Regions from separate parts of the Homo sapiens genome. Here regions 1, 2, 4 and 5 are each linked to region 3. The links are contacts of gene promoters, found by promoter capture Hi-C in blood cells and fetal thymus (Javierre and others, 2016). All regions are on one chromosome and are shown on one strand. Each heading gives the region's core, a stretch centred on a gene start or on the middle of the fragment in contact. The rest is flanking DNA. Distances are from core to core; before and after follow the strand shown. Region 1 overlaps OR3A2 (olfactory receptor family 3 subfamily A member 2). Region 2 overlaps OR3A2 (olfactory receptor family 3 subfamily A member 2). Region 3 holds the start of OR1G1 (olfactory receptor family 1 subfamily G member 1). Region 4 has its middle 30 kb from the start of OR3A1. Region 5 overlaps OR3A2 (olfactory receptor family 3 subfamily A member 2).

What was found. The method cuts DNA at HindIII sites, captures the fragments that hold promoters and counts their contacts. A CHiCAGO score of 5 or more calls a contact.
Region 1: a contact is called between a fragment that was not itself captured here and the fragment with the promoter of OR1G1 in region 3, in 5 of 17 cell types (M1 macrophages, M2 macrophages, endothelial precursors and 2 more). The highest score is 8.0, in M1 macrophages.
Region 2: a contact is called between a fragment that was not itself captured here and the fragment with the promoter of OR1G1 in region 3, in 4 of 17 cell types (endothelial precursors, M1 macrophages, M2 macrophages and 1 more). The highest score is 7.7, in endothelial precursors.
Region 4: a contact is called between a fragment that was not itself captured here and the fragment with the promoter of OR1G1 in region 3, in 3 of 17 cell types (endothelial precursors, M2 macrophages and M1 macrophages). The highest score is 9.5, in endothelial precursors.
Region 5: a contact is called between a fragment that was not itself captured here and the fragment with the promoter of OR1G1 in region 3, in 5 of 17 cell types (M2 macrophages, M1 macrophages, M0 macrophages and 2 more). The highest score is 8.9, in M2 macrophages.

What each region holds. Positions count from the first base shown.
Region 1 is chr17:3,306,170-3,308,869 of GRCh38, reverse strand. The region is part of intron 2 of OR3A2 (olfactory receptor family 3 subfamily A member 2); the gene reads left to right. Among named protein-coding and RNA genes, the nearest start is that of OR3A1, 9.2 kb to the right of the region's middle. The HindIII fragment of the contact is 1,979 bases long and covers 311-2,289 here.
Region 2 is chr17:3,341,792-3,344,491 of GRCh38, reverse strand. All of the region lies in intron 1 of OR3A2 (olfactory receptor family 3 subfamily A member 2), which reads left to right. Among named protein-coding and RNA genes, the nearest start is that of OR1R1, 43 kb to the left of the region's middle. The HindIII fragment of the contact is 1,085 bases long and covers 757-1,841 here.
Region 3 is chr17:3,126,269-3,128,968 of GRCh38, reverse strand. OR1G1 (olfactory receptor family 1 subfamily G member 1) reads left to right here and starts at 1,418. Exons shown (of 1, transcript NM_003555.1): 1 at 1,418-2,359. The coding sequence starts at 1,418. The coding sequence ends at 2,359. The HindIII fragment of the contact is 3,090 bases long and covers 383-2,700 here.
Region 4 is chr17:3,266,845-3,269,544 of GRCh38, reverse strand. No RefSeq gene overlaps it. Among named protein-coding and RNA genes, the nearest start is that of OR3A1, 30 kb to the left of the region's middle. The HindIII fragment of the contact is 1,011 bases long and covers 923-1,933 here.
Region 5 is chr17:3,359,164-3,361,863 of GRCh38, reverse strand. All of the region lies in intron 1 of OR3A2 (olfactory receptor family 3 subfamily A member 2), which reads left to right. Among named protein-coding and RNA genes, the nearest start is that of OR1R1, 25 kb to the left of the region's middle. The HindIII fragment of the contact is 7,072 bases long and covers 1-2,700 here.

The sequences.
Region 1 (2,700 bases), core at 51-2,550, 180 kb before region 3:
ATATTTAAGTCTCTCACATGGAGGCTAACTCATCCAGGGAAGGGGTGGAGTTGGAGACCACTAGGGGGCAAAAGGCATGAGCAGAGGAAGATATTTCCCAATGATTAAATGTGGAGAATGCCGTCCTCAGGTCTCCAGAGGGTCAATTACCATCTAATAGTATGGCCTTTTCTGCATGGACATGCTCTTACCATTACCTCAAACTCAGTCTCTCCAAATCAGAACCGTCCTTCTTCAATCTCAATCTGCTTTGGACTAAGTATTTTGGTAGCAGCATTGCCATCCTCCCCGTGAGTAGCGCTTGAAAGCTTAGTCATTACTGATTCTTCCCTCTCTCTAACCCTGCACATTGAAGCACCCAAATCCCACTGGATCTTTTTGGGTGGAGTGAGAAGCTGTTTCAGAGCCCAGAGGGTGAACTTCATTTGTATGGAGACCAAGCTGTGAGAGTACAGTGAGGAGTCTTGAGATGAGACTCACCCGGCCAAAGAGATGGGCAAAGAGGAGGAGGGACAGTCCCGCCGGCCCAGCAGCCTCTGCAGAGGGGATGGCTTATAAAGGACAGACAGACAAAGGGACAAGCAACTCCGCTGACATCATTTTCACACTGGGATTTTTCTCCTCCTCATTGTTCCCCTGGAGGCCTCAGAAATTAGCACCTTCCAGGGGGAGCCAGAACCAGGTAAAGACACCTGCCTTTGCCAAAGACATAATGACCTCAAATATTTTTAAAATGTTATGGACTTGTCAAAATGTTTCCAAGTACAGCCTTCTTCAATATGGCAAAATTCATTCATTTATTTAACAAAAATATTTTTGAGCACTGGTGAAACGGCACTCTTGTAATCAACATTTTATAGAGTTAAAATGAACATCTCAAAGACTTAAAATCCTGAAAGTCACCTTGTGTTGGGGACGGTGTTGAGATTTTGGGTTTCTGATTTAATCCAGCCCATCATCTTGGGTGGGGACAGGAGAGGAGAGGAGCAGTGACTTGTGACTTTCTCACCTGGCCTGCAGCATGGGGCTGGGAGGAGGCCAGAGCCTAGGTCAGGATTTCCTCCTGTTTCATCCCTGGATCAGTGTTCTTGCCATCATCTCACAAGGTCACCTCCCATCACAGCTCACGTGAGCCATCCTCAAGCCCGGCTTCTCTTCTAGTCTCAGTCAAGCGCTTTGCCTTTTTCTGGGCTCCCACAGTGTAATCTAGAACCTGTAGCATCCTGGCTCAAAATGTTTTCTAGTCTCATGCCTCCAACACCACAAAGGAAGATAAAGGGTTAGAGGACTTTTAGAACAGGACCATCTACTTTCACTAACATCTAATGGTGGCTTCAGACATCAACTGCAATTTTAATTCCTTGTTCATTAATTAAGCATTCTCACTGACTCTCATTAACAGGTTTGGAAGAAGCTCTTTGCAGGATCACTTGAGGAAACTCATAGTGGCTTAAGCCTGTCATGGGCCAAGGAGGAGTTGTCAGAGAATTAGGATGGATTGGGATTTCTGTTGACAGCTGTCCTTGTAAGAGGCTAAGTTGCAGAGCTCAAATAGAACCCATTATTTCTGCTTTCTCCTGACATACCGGAGGCTGTGTCGTCTCCTTTTCTGACACAATGTTAAGGAAGGGAACTTCCTCCTTGAAGACTCATTGCAGGTCTCCTCCTTTCCAGAAACTGCCTATGAGTCCCTGGGGCCAGGCTAGGAGGCCTTCCTCTGTCTTCCCATAGCAATCCAAAGGCAGTACATGCAGGCGATCCTCAGTTTTTATCTCCCTCCCAGACACTAAGTTGTTGACCCTAATGCCTGTGTGTTGGATATTTCTACCTGAACATCCCACAGGAACCCAAGATGTACAAAACCTTTTGTACAAAATGCGCACACACACAAGCACGCGTGCGTGTGTAAATCCAGTTGAACCACATGCCTTGTTGTGGAAAAACTTGGAAGTATAAGAGTGACACTCACTTATGTTTGACTCTATAAACCCAATTTTTGTTCTTAGTCTTTCTCTTACACTAACAATGTCTTTTGAAGTTATTAGTGGTTTTTGTTTTCTATTTGATTTTAAGTGGTTCTTAGTCTTTCTCTTACACTAACAATGTCTTTTGAAGATATTAGTGGTTTTTGTTTTCTATTTGATTTTAAGTGGAGAAAATAAAAGGGGTTACGGTTTTTTTTTTTTTTTTGAAGAGTAGTAGAGCACAGTGATCCCCTGCACTCTCCCTATTCCACATGGAGAGGGGCTAAGGTTGAGCGTCACTAGACTACACACACTATGGCAAGCTTTTCAGTAGAAAGGGACCCCACCCCCCACAAACACTCTATATATTTGTAGGAATTGGAAGGGGGAGTGGGAGCATCTAGGTAACTGCATTACATCTGGTGCCTCCTGGATGAGGAAGTAACCTCATCAAAATGGGGGTGGCTGGATGCGGTGGCTTGTGCCTCTAATCCCAACAGTTTGGGAGGCTGGAGTGGGGGGATTGCTTGAGGCCAGGCGTTCTAGATCAGGGGCAACATAATGAAACCCTGTCTCTACAAAAAAAATTAGCTGACTGTGGTGGCACAAACATGTAGTCCCAGCTACTTGGGAGGCTAAGGTAGGAGGATTGCTTGAGGCCAGGAGTTTGAGGCTGCGTTGAGCTATGATGGCGCCATAGAATTTCGGCCTGGGTAACAGAGCAAGGCCTGTCTCT
Region 2 (2,700 bases), core at 50-2,549, 220 kb before region 3:
ACTTTTGTGTCTAGATGATATTGTCTAGCTGTATGGTGGGGAATCTCTGGGTCAGAGTCTCCAAGGTACAGTAGTGGCCTGGAGTCTTACAACCACAAGGCTATCTTGTTTGTGGTTGGCAGATGCAGGGTGAATATTTACAGGACACGCAAAGCAGGAAGGTCTAAATTGCTGAAAATCTTCTTCTTCAGGGTATTTTTATTTAAAAATAATTAGATGTGTAAAAATTTGAATTTGGTGGAAGCAGGCTTTTTAGCTCACAAGTCTCAGCCAGCAGTGAAGAAATAAACCACCTAAGAGTCAATACACAGACATCATCTTTGGCTCATTTTTGTAACATGCCACCTAAAGAAGGGGCAATGCCACAGAGCCGAATATCCCACTGCATATGCACTGATGTGGCACTACAGCACTCCTGTATATCACTGAGTGGAAAAATCAAAACAAGGTGAATGACACTAAGATGTATTGCAAGCCATGGATTAGAATGAGAAAAACTTCCTAGACAAAGTAGAATCACAGACCCCTCCTTCTGCTTCTTTGATGACATAGGTTGTCCATGGTGATGGGACAGCATTTCAAGTGTTGGTTGGCATGAATCTAGGTTACTTGAACAAATAATGAGGCAAAGGGGGTGGGGGAGATGGAGTTATCTTCTGCCAAAGCATGTGGGCTACGTCAGGGAGGGGTGGAGGCTGGATGAAAACTAGACTACTGTTAAAAATGGGAGTAGGTTGATATGACACTAAGCAAGCTTTCATTGAATGAACACTCCTGTTCAATACAGTGCTGACAACTCCTGGGTGTACTCCCTCCAAACTTGTTCTTTTCCCCACTTCCCACCCAGAACTACTGAATTACTGAATTTGTGGCTTAGTTTTCTTCATGAAATGCTTTTTAAAGGTGGAAAGAAGTCATGGTTTCTAGTTTCTTTCTGTTTTCTAAAATGGATGCATGGCAGTAAGTGAAAGCAAGACGCAGCACATTAAAATCTCAGCATTCTCCAAAATGAGATATTGGATGGGGCATACTGAGTTTATGTTGGCCAGTGAGTCAATTTCTTATTGTGTTTGCATTAGAATTTCATATAAGTAGGTTCATTTCAAGATGGCTGAATAGGAACAGCTCTGGTCTACAGCTTCCAGCATGATCGACACAGAAGATGGGTGATTTCTGCTTTTCCAACTGAGGTACCTGGTTCATCTCATTGGAACTGGTTGGACAGTGGGAGCAGCCCACAGAGGGTGAGCCGAAGCAGGGCAGGGCATCGCCTCACCTGGGAAGTGCAAGGGGTCAGGGGATTTCCCTTTCCTAGACAAGGGAAGCCATGACAGACTGTACCGGGAAAATCGGGACACTGCAACCTAGATACTGCACTTTTCCAGAGGTCTTAGCAAATGGCACACCAGGAGATTATATCCCGTGCCTGGCTCAGTGAGTCCCATGCCCACGGAGCCTTGCTCACTGCTAGCGCAGCAGTCCAAGATCGAACTGCAAGGCGGCAAGCCTGGCTGGAGGAGGGGCGTCCACCATTGCTGAGGCTAGAGTAGGTAAACACAGCGGCCAGGAAGCCAACGAGGCCCGCCTGCCTCTGTGCACTCCACCTCTGGGGGCAGGGCATAGCTGAACAAAAGGCAGCAGAAACTTCTGCAGACTTAAACGTCCCTGTCTGACAGCTCTGAAGAGAGCAGTGGTTCTCCCATCATGGTGTTTGAGCTCTGAGAATGGACAGACTGCCTCGTCAAGTGGGTCCCTGACCCCCAGGTAGCCTAACTTGGAGACACCTCCCAGTAGGGCTGACTGACACCTCATACAGCCAGGTGGCCCTCTGAGACGAAGCTTCCAGAGGAAGGATCGGGCAGCAATATTTGCTGTTCTGCAATATTTGCCCTTCTGCAGCCTCCACTGGTGACACCCAGGCAAACGGTCTGGAGTGGACTTCCGGCAAACTCTAACAGACCTGCAGCTGAGGGACCTGACAGAAGGAAAACTAACAACAGAAAGGAATAGCATCAACATCAACAAAAAGGACATCCACACCAAAACCCCATCTGTAGGTCACCATCATCAAAGACCAGAGGTAGATAAAACCACAAAGATGGGGAGAAACCAGAGGAGAAAAGCTGAAAATTCTAAAAACCAGAGCTCCTCTTCTCCTCCAAAGGATTGCAGCTCCTCGCCAGCAACAGAACAAAGCTGGACAGAGAATGACTTTGACGAGTTGACAGAAGTAGGCTTCAGAAAGTCGGTAATAACAAACTTCTCTGAGCTAAAGGAGGGTGTTTGAACCCATTGCAAGGAAGCTAAAAACCTTGAAAAAAGATTAGACAAATGGCTAACTAGAATAAACAGTGTAGAGAAGACTTTAAATGACCTGATGGAGCTGAAAACCGTGACACAAGAACTACGTGACGCATGCACAAGCTTCAGTAGCCGATTTGATCAAGTGGAAGAAAGAGTATTAGTGATTGAAGATCAAATTAATGAAATAAAGCAAGAAGAGAAGTTTAGAGAAAAAAGAGTAAAAAGAAACGAACAAAGCCTTCAAGAAATATGGGACTATGTGAAAAGACAAAATCTACATTTGATTGGTGTACCTGAAAGTGATGTGGAAAATGGAACGAAGCTGGAAAACACTCTTCAAGATATTATCCAGGAGAACTTCCCCAACCTAGCAAGGCAGTCCAAAATTCAAATTCA
Region 3 (2,700 bases), core at 169-2,668:
TAATAATAAAGGTTCAGGCTAATTCTTATGCCTGATATTACCTCTATAGCAAAGCCCCTTTCCATTCTTCCCACTCTTTCCATTCTCTGGGGTTTATGTATTTACATGATAGATTCATACTGAGCATCTGTGTTGTACCAGCCTCAAGGCTAATGCTAGATTTCAAAGCTGAGCCAATTAGGCACCATCTCTGCCTACTCCCAGTGATGCTCACAGCAGAATGAGGGACACTCATATAAACAGACACTCAGAATCCAAGGTGACACGTGCTGTGATGGGGGAGGCACTGCATTAGGAAGGTCACGAACCTGAGTTTCTGGTGAGAGGATGAGTTGGGAAAGACTTCCCAGAAGAGGTGACATCTAAGGTGAGACCTGAAGCTTAGCTCGTCTGATAAATGGGATGGGAAAAACTATTTCAGCCTGAGAAAGCCTAAAGGTGAGGGAGTATCTGGGCCTTTAAAATAATTGAAACTATGATTAGTGCATAAAGTGTGGAGTGGAGGAGGGAGTTTCATGAGGAACTGGGGATGTCTGTAATAAATGACGGTAAGATCCAGGACATTCAGCCGTGTTCAGTTTAGAGTTTATCCTGGGAGTAATGAGGAGTGTATGAAGGATTTTTCAAGCAGAAAGACAAGAGTCGAATTTGATTTTTAGCAAGCCTATTCTCTGTGTATTTAGAACAGCAGGTGGCAGGTGGGCATACCTGGGGGCATGGAGATCAACTGCCCAAATCCAAGTGAGAAATCACAGTGCCCTGAATGACATGAGCTGCAGCTGGGACTGATGGTGACCAGTAAACAGAGAGACGTCAGTAAATTGTAGCCATATTGAGAAGGTAAAATTGCCAGGCTTTGGTGGTGGTTGGATGTAGGCAGGGAGGGAGAAACGTGGGTCAATAATGACGCTCAGGTTTCTGGCCAGACCCGCTGTGTAGATAACAGTGATAATGATTTCCATGTTAGCCATGCTTTTCCCAATTCCAAAACCCCTTTCCAGGAGCTGTCTTTTTAATTATTGGTACAATGGGCTCATTTGACCTGTAAAATCTTGGGTTGTATAAATGTCATAGTTTCTACATGAACACTACCAGAGCAAAGCCAGCAAGCCCCTCCAGCCCAGCCCCAAAATACACATATTGGCTTAATGCTTATGGAATAAATTTAAAAGCCTCTCATTGCATTACAAACAAATCTGTGGTTTCTCATAGCACCAAGCACAGGAATTTGCAAATATTTAGTCGAACCCTATGAAATGGCCATTTTTGCAGGTCCCAAAGAGTCAAATAGTGGAGATTTCCTATGATCCAACCTCACACTAGAAGATCAACACTGGAATATTGCATAATTTTCAGAGTTCACAATCCAGGGCTTACCAACGTCACCCAATTAACCCAACTTTCTTCCTACAGACAAATGGAGGGGAAAAATCTGACCAGCATCTCAGAATGTTTCCTCCTGGGGTTCTCTGAGCAGCTGGAGGAGCAGAAGCCCCTCTTTGGGTCCTTCCTGTTCATGTACTTGGTCACGGTGGCAGGCAACCTCCTCATCATTCTAGTCATCATTACTGACACTCAACTCCATACCCCCATGTACTTCTTTCTAGCCAACCTCTCCCTTGCAGATGCCTGCTTTGTGTCCACCACAGTCCCTAAGATGCTGGCAAACATACAGATCCAGAGTCAGGCCATCTCCTACTCAGGGTGTCTACTACAGTTGTATTTTTTCATGTTATTTGTGATGCTGGAGGCATTCCTCTTGGCGGTCATGGCCTATGACTGCTACGTGGCCATATGCCACCCACTTCATTACATTCTGATCATGAGCCCTGGGCTCTGCATCTTCCTCGTGTCTGCATCCTGGATCATGAATGCCCTCCACTCCCTTCTACACACACTTCTGATGAACAGCCTGTCCTTCTGCGCAAACCATGAGATCCCACACTTCTTCTGTGACATCAATCCCCTCCTGAGTCTGTCCTGCACAGACCCCTTCACCAATGAGCTGGTGATCTTCATCACTGGGGGTCTCACAGGACTCATTTGTGTGCTTTGCCTGATTATCTCTTACACGAACGTTTTCTCGACCATCCTGAAGATCCCATCAGCTCAGGGGAAGCGGAAAGCCTTTTCCACCTGCAGCTCTCATCTCTCCGTGGTCTCTCTCTTCTTTGGGACTTCTTTTTGTGTTGATTTCAGTTCTCCCTCAACCCACTCGGCCCAGAAGGACACAGTTGCATCAGTGATGTACACAGTGGTAACTCCAATGTTGAATCCCTTTATCTACAGTTTGAGGAACCAAGAAATAAAGTCTTCCCTGAGAAAGTTAATCTGGGTTCGGAAAATTCATTCCCCTTAGTGGTAGTGACTTGACATCCAATATGGGGGTCTCCATGCACCTGCGTTCACCACAGTAAGCAGTGAAGAATGAAAGATGGAGAGAATCTAGAGACCTCTGTTCCAGTACCTACGATCTGAACCTGAAATATTCATGTCTAAGCTACAGGACTGCATCATAACCCATCATCAGGCCAATGTCACAGGTGAAGTTCTTACAATTATGTTCTAAAACCACAGCCATCCAGATGTATAATATAATGTCATGCCTTATTATATTTACTATAGTTAATAATATTGATGATTTAATAATGTTATTAGTTAATGCTTTTTAAACAACATGGGACAGCTCATGACTGAAAT
Region 4 (2,700 bases), core at 179-2,678, 140 kb before region 3:
TTAGCGTGCTATACATTCTAGGAGTAAGGCATAATCGGAAATAGGCCAAGCCTCGCAAAGAATGAAACTCAGCTTTAAGCAACTAACTCGATCATGGGTTGGATAAAAGGGATCTACTCCTATCCTTTCTGCCTGCCAGACTCAAAAATAAGTCATTTCTGGAAGAAGAAGCTATCATCCAGAGCAGTGCTATCCAATAGAAATTTCATATGAACCACATACATAATTTAAATTTTTCAAGAGCCACTTTAATAAAAGTAAAAAGAAACAGGTGAAATTAATGATGTATTTTATTTAATTCAATAATCTAAAATATTACCACTTCAACATGTTAATATTTAAAATTTTTCATCTGTCATGGTTGTAGTGAAAAAAGAAAAATATTTTAAAAATAAAAAATTATAAGTGACAGATTTTACATTTTTATATTTCATAGTCTTTGAAATCTGGTATGTGTTTTTTTTGTTTGTTTGTTTGTTTTGTTTTGTTTTTTTAGACAGAGTCTTGCTCTGTTGCCAGGCTGGAGTGCAGTGGCGTGATCTCGGTTCACCACAACCTCCGCCTCCCAGGTTCAAGCAATTCTCCTGCCTCAGCCTCCCAAGTAGCTGGGACTACAGGTGCATGCCAGCATGCCCGGCTAATTTTTGTATTTTTAGTAGGTACAGGGTTTCACTATGTTGGCCAGGATGATCTCGATCTCTTTACCTCATGATCCACCCGCCTCACCCTCCCAAAATGCTGGGATTACAGGAGTGAGCCACCGTGCCTGGCCTGGTACGTGTTTTTTAAACTTATAGCACATCTCAATTAGGATGCCAAATTTGCATCAGAAATACTGGGTCCGGGTTCTCTCATGAGGCTGCCTTAGCGGTATCAGCCAGTGGTGCAGCTGTCTCAAGGCTTGACCAGGGAGGGATAAGCTTCCATGCTCATTCACGTGATCCCTGGTAAGTTTCCACATTTTGCTGGTTGTTGGACTGGAGGCCTCAGTGCCTCACTGTCTGTTGGCTGGAGGCCGCCTTCAGTTCCTTGCTACTAAGGCCTCTCAAAACACGTCTGCTTCCTTCCACAGAGCAATCGAGAAGAGAGCCAGAAAGAGAGGAGATGGAAATCATAGTCTTTTATAACTTAATCTCAGAAGTCATTAGTTTTACTGTATTCTCTTTGTTAGAAGCAAGTCCCTAGATTTCACCCACACCCAAGAGAGGGGACTATATACAGCTATGAATACCATGAGGCAGCAATCACTGGGAGACATTTTAGAGGCTGCCTGCCCCACAACCCAAATGTCCATCTGTAGGTGAATGGACACTGATAAGTTTTGGCTCTGTGTCCCTACCCAAATATCATGCTGAATTGTACTCCCCACGGGTTGGAGTGAAGGAAGAAAATGACAAACACAAAATTCAGGGTCATGGTTACTTCTGAAGGAAAGACATACATAGAGATTCCATAGTACTGGAAATTGAACAATACACAACCAAAAATAAAATGCACAAGAGTGATTAACAAAAAATGCAAATTGTTAACAAATACCAGGAAAAAGATAAACCTTATTACGTCAGAGCTATTCAAATGAAAATAATAATGAGAGACAACTATTCCCATAGGATAAAGAAGAATGTATTAAAACAATGGCAATATAGTGTTAGGGAAATGAAGTTAGCGAAAGCAGTAAGAGTGGAGGTGCTTCTCCTGAAGCTGAGAATCTGGAATCTGGGAAGCAAAACCAGAGGCAGGTATTAAATTATTAAATGCTCACATCTATAATCCCGGTGTATCCGGAGTTGGTTCCTTCCAGTGGGTTCATGGTCTTGCTAACTTCGAGAATGGAGCTGTGGACCTTCACGGTGTGTTACAGCTCTTAAAGATGGCATGGACCCAAAGAGTGAGTAGCAGCAAGAAATGTTGTGAAGAGCAAAAGAACAAAGCTTCCATAGCATGCAAGGAGACCAGAGTGGGTTGCCGCTGCTGGCTGAGGGGTGGCCAGCTTTTATTCTGTTATTTGTCCCCGCCCATGTTCCGTTTCTGTCCTATCAGAATGCCCTTTTTTTTCAATCCTCCCTGTTATTGGCTACTTTTAGGATCCTGCTGATTGGTGCATTTTACAGAGTGCTGATTGGTGCATTTTACCATCCCCTTGCTAGCTACAGAGCACTGATTGGTACATATTACAATCCTAGCTACAGAGTGCTGATTGGTGCATTTTACAATCCTCTTGCTAGAAAGAAAAGTTCTCCAAGTCCCACTCTACCCAGGAAGTCCAGGGACTTCATCTCTCACCACACTTTGGGAGGCCGAGGCAGGTGGATCACCTGAGGTCAGGAGTTCGAGACCAGCCTAGTCAACATGGTGAAACCCTGTCTCTACTAAAAGTACAAAAATTATGGCCGGGCCCAGTGGCTCACTCCTGTAATCATAGCACTTTGGGAGGCCAAGGCGGGCAGATCATGAGGTCAGGAGATCTAGACTGTCCTGGCCAACATGGAGAAACCCCGTCTCCACTAAAATACAAAAAAATTAGCCAGGCGTTGTGGTGGGCGCCTGTAGTCCCAGCTACTTGGGAGGCTGAGGCAGGAGAATTGCTTGAACCCGGGAGGTGGAGGTTGCAGTGAGCTGAGATCGTGCCACTGCACTCCAGCCTGGGTGACAGAGCCAGACTCTGTCTCAAAAAAAAAAAAAAAGAAAAAGCTTCAGCCC
Region 5 (2,700 bases), core at 94-2,593, 230 kb before region 3:
AATATCCCTGATGAACATCAATGCAAAAATCCTCAATAAAATACTGGCAAACCGAATCCAGCAGCACATCAAAAAGCGTATCCACCTCGATCAACTGGACTTCATCCCTGGGATGCAAGGCTGGTTCAACATACACAAATCAATAAATGTAATCCAGCATATAAACAGAACAAAAAACAAAAACCACATGATTATCTCAATAGATGCAGAAAAGGTCTTTGACAAAATTCAACAACCTTTCATGCTAAAAACTCTCAATAAATTAGGTATTGATGGGACGTATCTCAAAATAATAAGAGCTATCTATGACAAACCCACAGCCAATATCATACTGAATGGGCAAAAATCTGGAAGCATTCTCTTTGAAAACTGGCACAAGACAGGGATGCCCTCTCTCACCACTCCTATTCAACATAGTGTTGGAAGTTCTGGCCAGGGCAATCAGGTAAGAGAAAGAAATAAAGCACATTCAGTTAGGAAAAGAGGAAGTCAAATTGTCCCTGTTTGCAGATGACATGATTGTATATCTAGAAAACCCCATCATGTCAGCCCAAAATCTCCTTAAGCTGATAAGCAACTTCAGCAAAGTCTCAGGATACAAAATCAATGTACAAAAATCACAAGCATTCTTATACACCAACAACAGACAAACAGCCAAATCATGAGTGAACTCCCATTCACAATTGCTTCAAAGAGAATAAAATACCTAGGAATCCAACTTACAAAGGATGTGAAGGACCTCTTCAAGGAGAACTACAAACCACTGCTTAACGAAATAAAAGAGGACACAAACAAATGGAAGAACATTCCATGCTCATGGGTAGGAAGAATCAATATCGTGAAAATGGCCATACTGCCCAAGGTAATTTATAGATTCAATGCCATCCCCATCAAGCTACCAATGACTTTCTTCACAGAATTGGGAAAAACTACTTTAAAGTTCATATGGAGCCAAAAAGGAGCCCAGATCGCCAAGTTAATCCTAACCCAAAAGAACAAAGCTGGAGGCATCACGCTATCTGACTTCAAACTATACTACAAGGTTACAGTAACCAAAACAGCATGGTACTAGTACCAAAACAGAGATATAGACCAATGGAACAGAACAGAGCCCTCAGAAACAATACCACACATCTACAACTATCTGATCTTTGACAAACCTGAGAAAAACAAGCAATGGGGAAAGGATTCCCTATTTAACAAATGGTGCTGGGAAAACTGGCTAGCCATATGTAGAAAGCTGAAACTGGATCCCTTCTTTACACCTTATACGAAAATTAATTCAAGATGGATTAAAGATTTAAATGTTAGACCTAAAACCATAAAAACCCTAGAAGAAAACCTATGCAATACCATTCAGGACATAGGCATGGGCATGGACTTCATGTCTAAAACACCAAAAGCAATGGCAACAAAAGCCAAAATTGACAACTGGGATCTAATTAAACTAAAGAGCTTCTGCACAGCCAAAGAAACTACCATCAGGGTGAACAGGCAACCTACAGAATAGGAGAAAATTTTTGCAATCTACTCATCTGACAATGGGCTAATATCCAGAATCCACAAAGAACTCAAACAAATTTACAAGAAAAAAACAACCCCATCAAAAAGTGGGCGAAGGATATGAACAGACACTTCGCAAAAGAAGACATTTATGCAGCCAACAGACACATGAAAAAATGTTCATCATCACTGGCCATCAGAGAAATGCAAATTAAAACCACAATGAGATATCATGTCACACCAGTTAGAATGGCAATCATTAAAAAGTCAGGAAACAACAGGTGCTGGAGAGGATGTGGAGAAATAGGAACACTTTTACACTGTTGGTGGGACTGTAAACTAGTTCAACCATTGTGGAAGACAGTGTGGCAATTCCTCAGGGATCTAAAACTAGAAATACCATTTGATCCAGCCATCCCATTACTGGGTATATACCTGAAGGAATATAAATCATGCTGCTATAAAGACACATGCACACATATGTTTATTGCGGCACTACTCACAATAGCAAAGACTTTGAACCAACCCAAATGTCCAACAATGATAGACTGGATTAAGAAAATGTGGCACATACACACCATGGAATACTATGCAGCCATAAAAAAGGATGAGTTCATGTCCTTTGTAGGGACATGGATGAAGCTGGAAACCATCATTCTCAGCAAACTAGAGAGAAAGGGAAGGTTACCTACAAAGGGAACCCCATTAGGCTAACAGCAGACCTCTCAGCTAAAACCCTACAAGCCAGAAGAGATTGGGGACCTATAATCAACATTCTTAGAGAAAAATAATCTTCAACCAAGAATTTCATATCCAGCCAAACTAAGTTTCCTAAGTGAGGGAGAAATATGTTCCTTTTCAGATAAGCAAATATTGAGGGAATTCATCACCACCAGATCTGCCTTACAAGAGATCTTGAAATGAGCACTAAATATAGAAAGGAAAGACTACTGCCAGCTAATACAAAAACATACTTAAACACACAGACCAGTGTCACTGTAAAACAACCACACAAAGAAGCCAAGATAATAACCAGCTAACAGCACAATGACAGGATCAAATCCATACATATCAATACTGACCTTGAAGGTGAATGGGCTAAATGCCCCACTTCAAAGGCACAGAGTGGCAAGCTGGATAAAGCAAGATCCAGTAGTATTCTGCCTTCATGAGACCCATCTCACACAAAACAACACT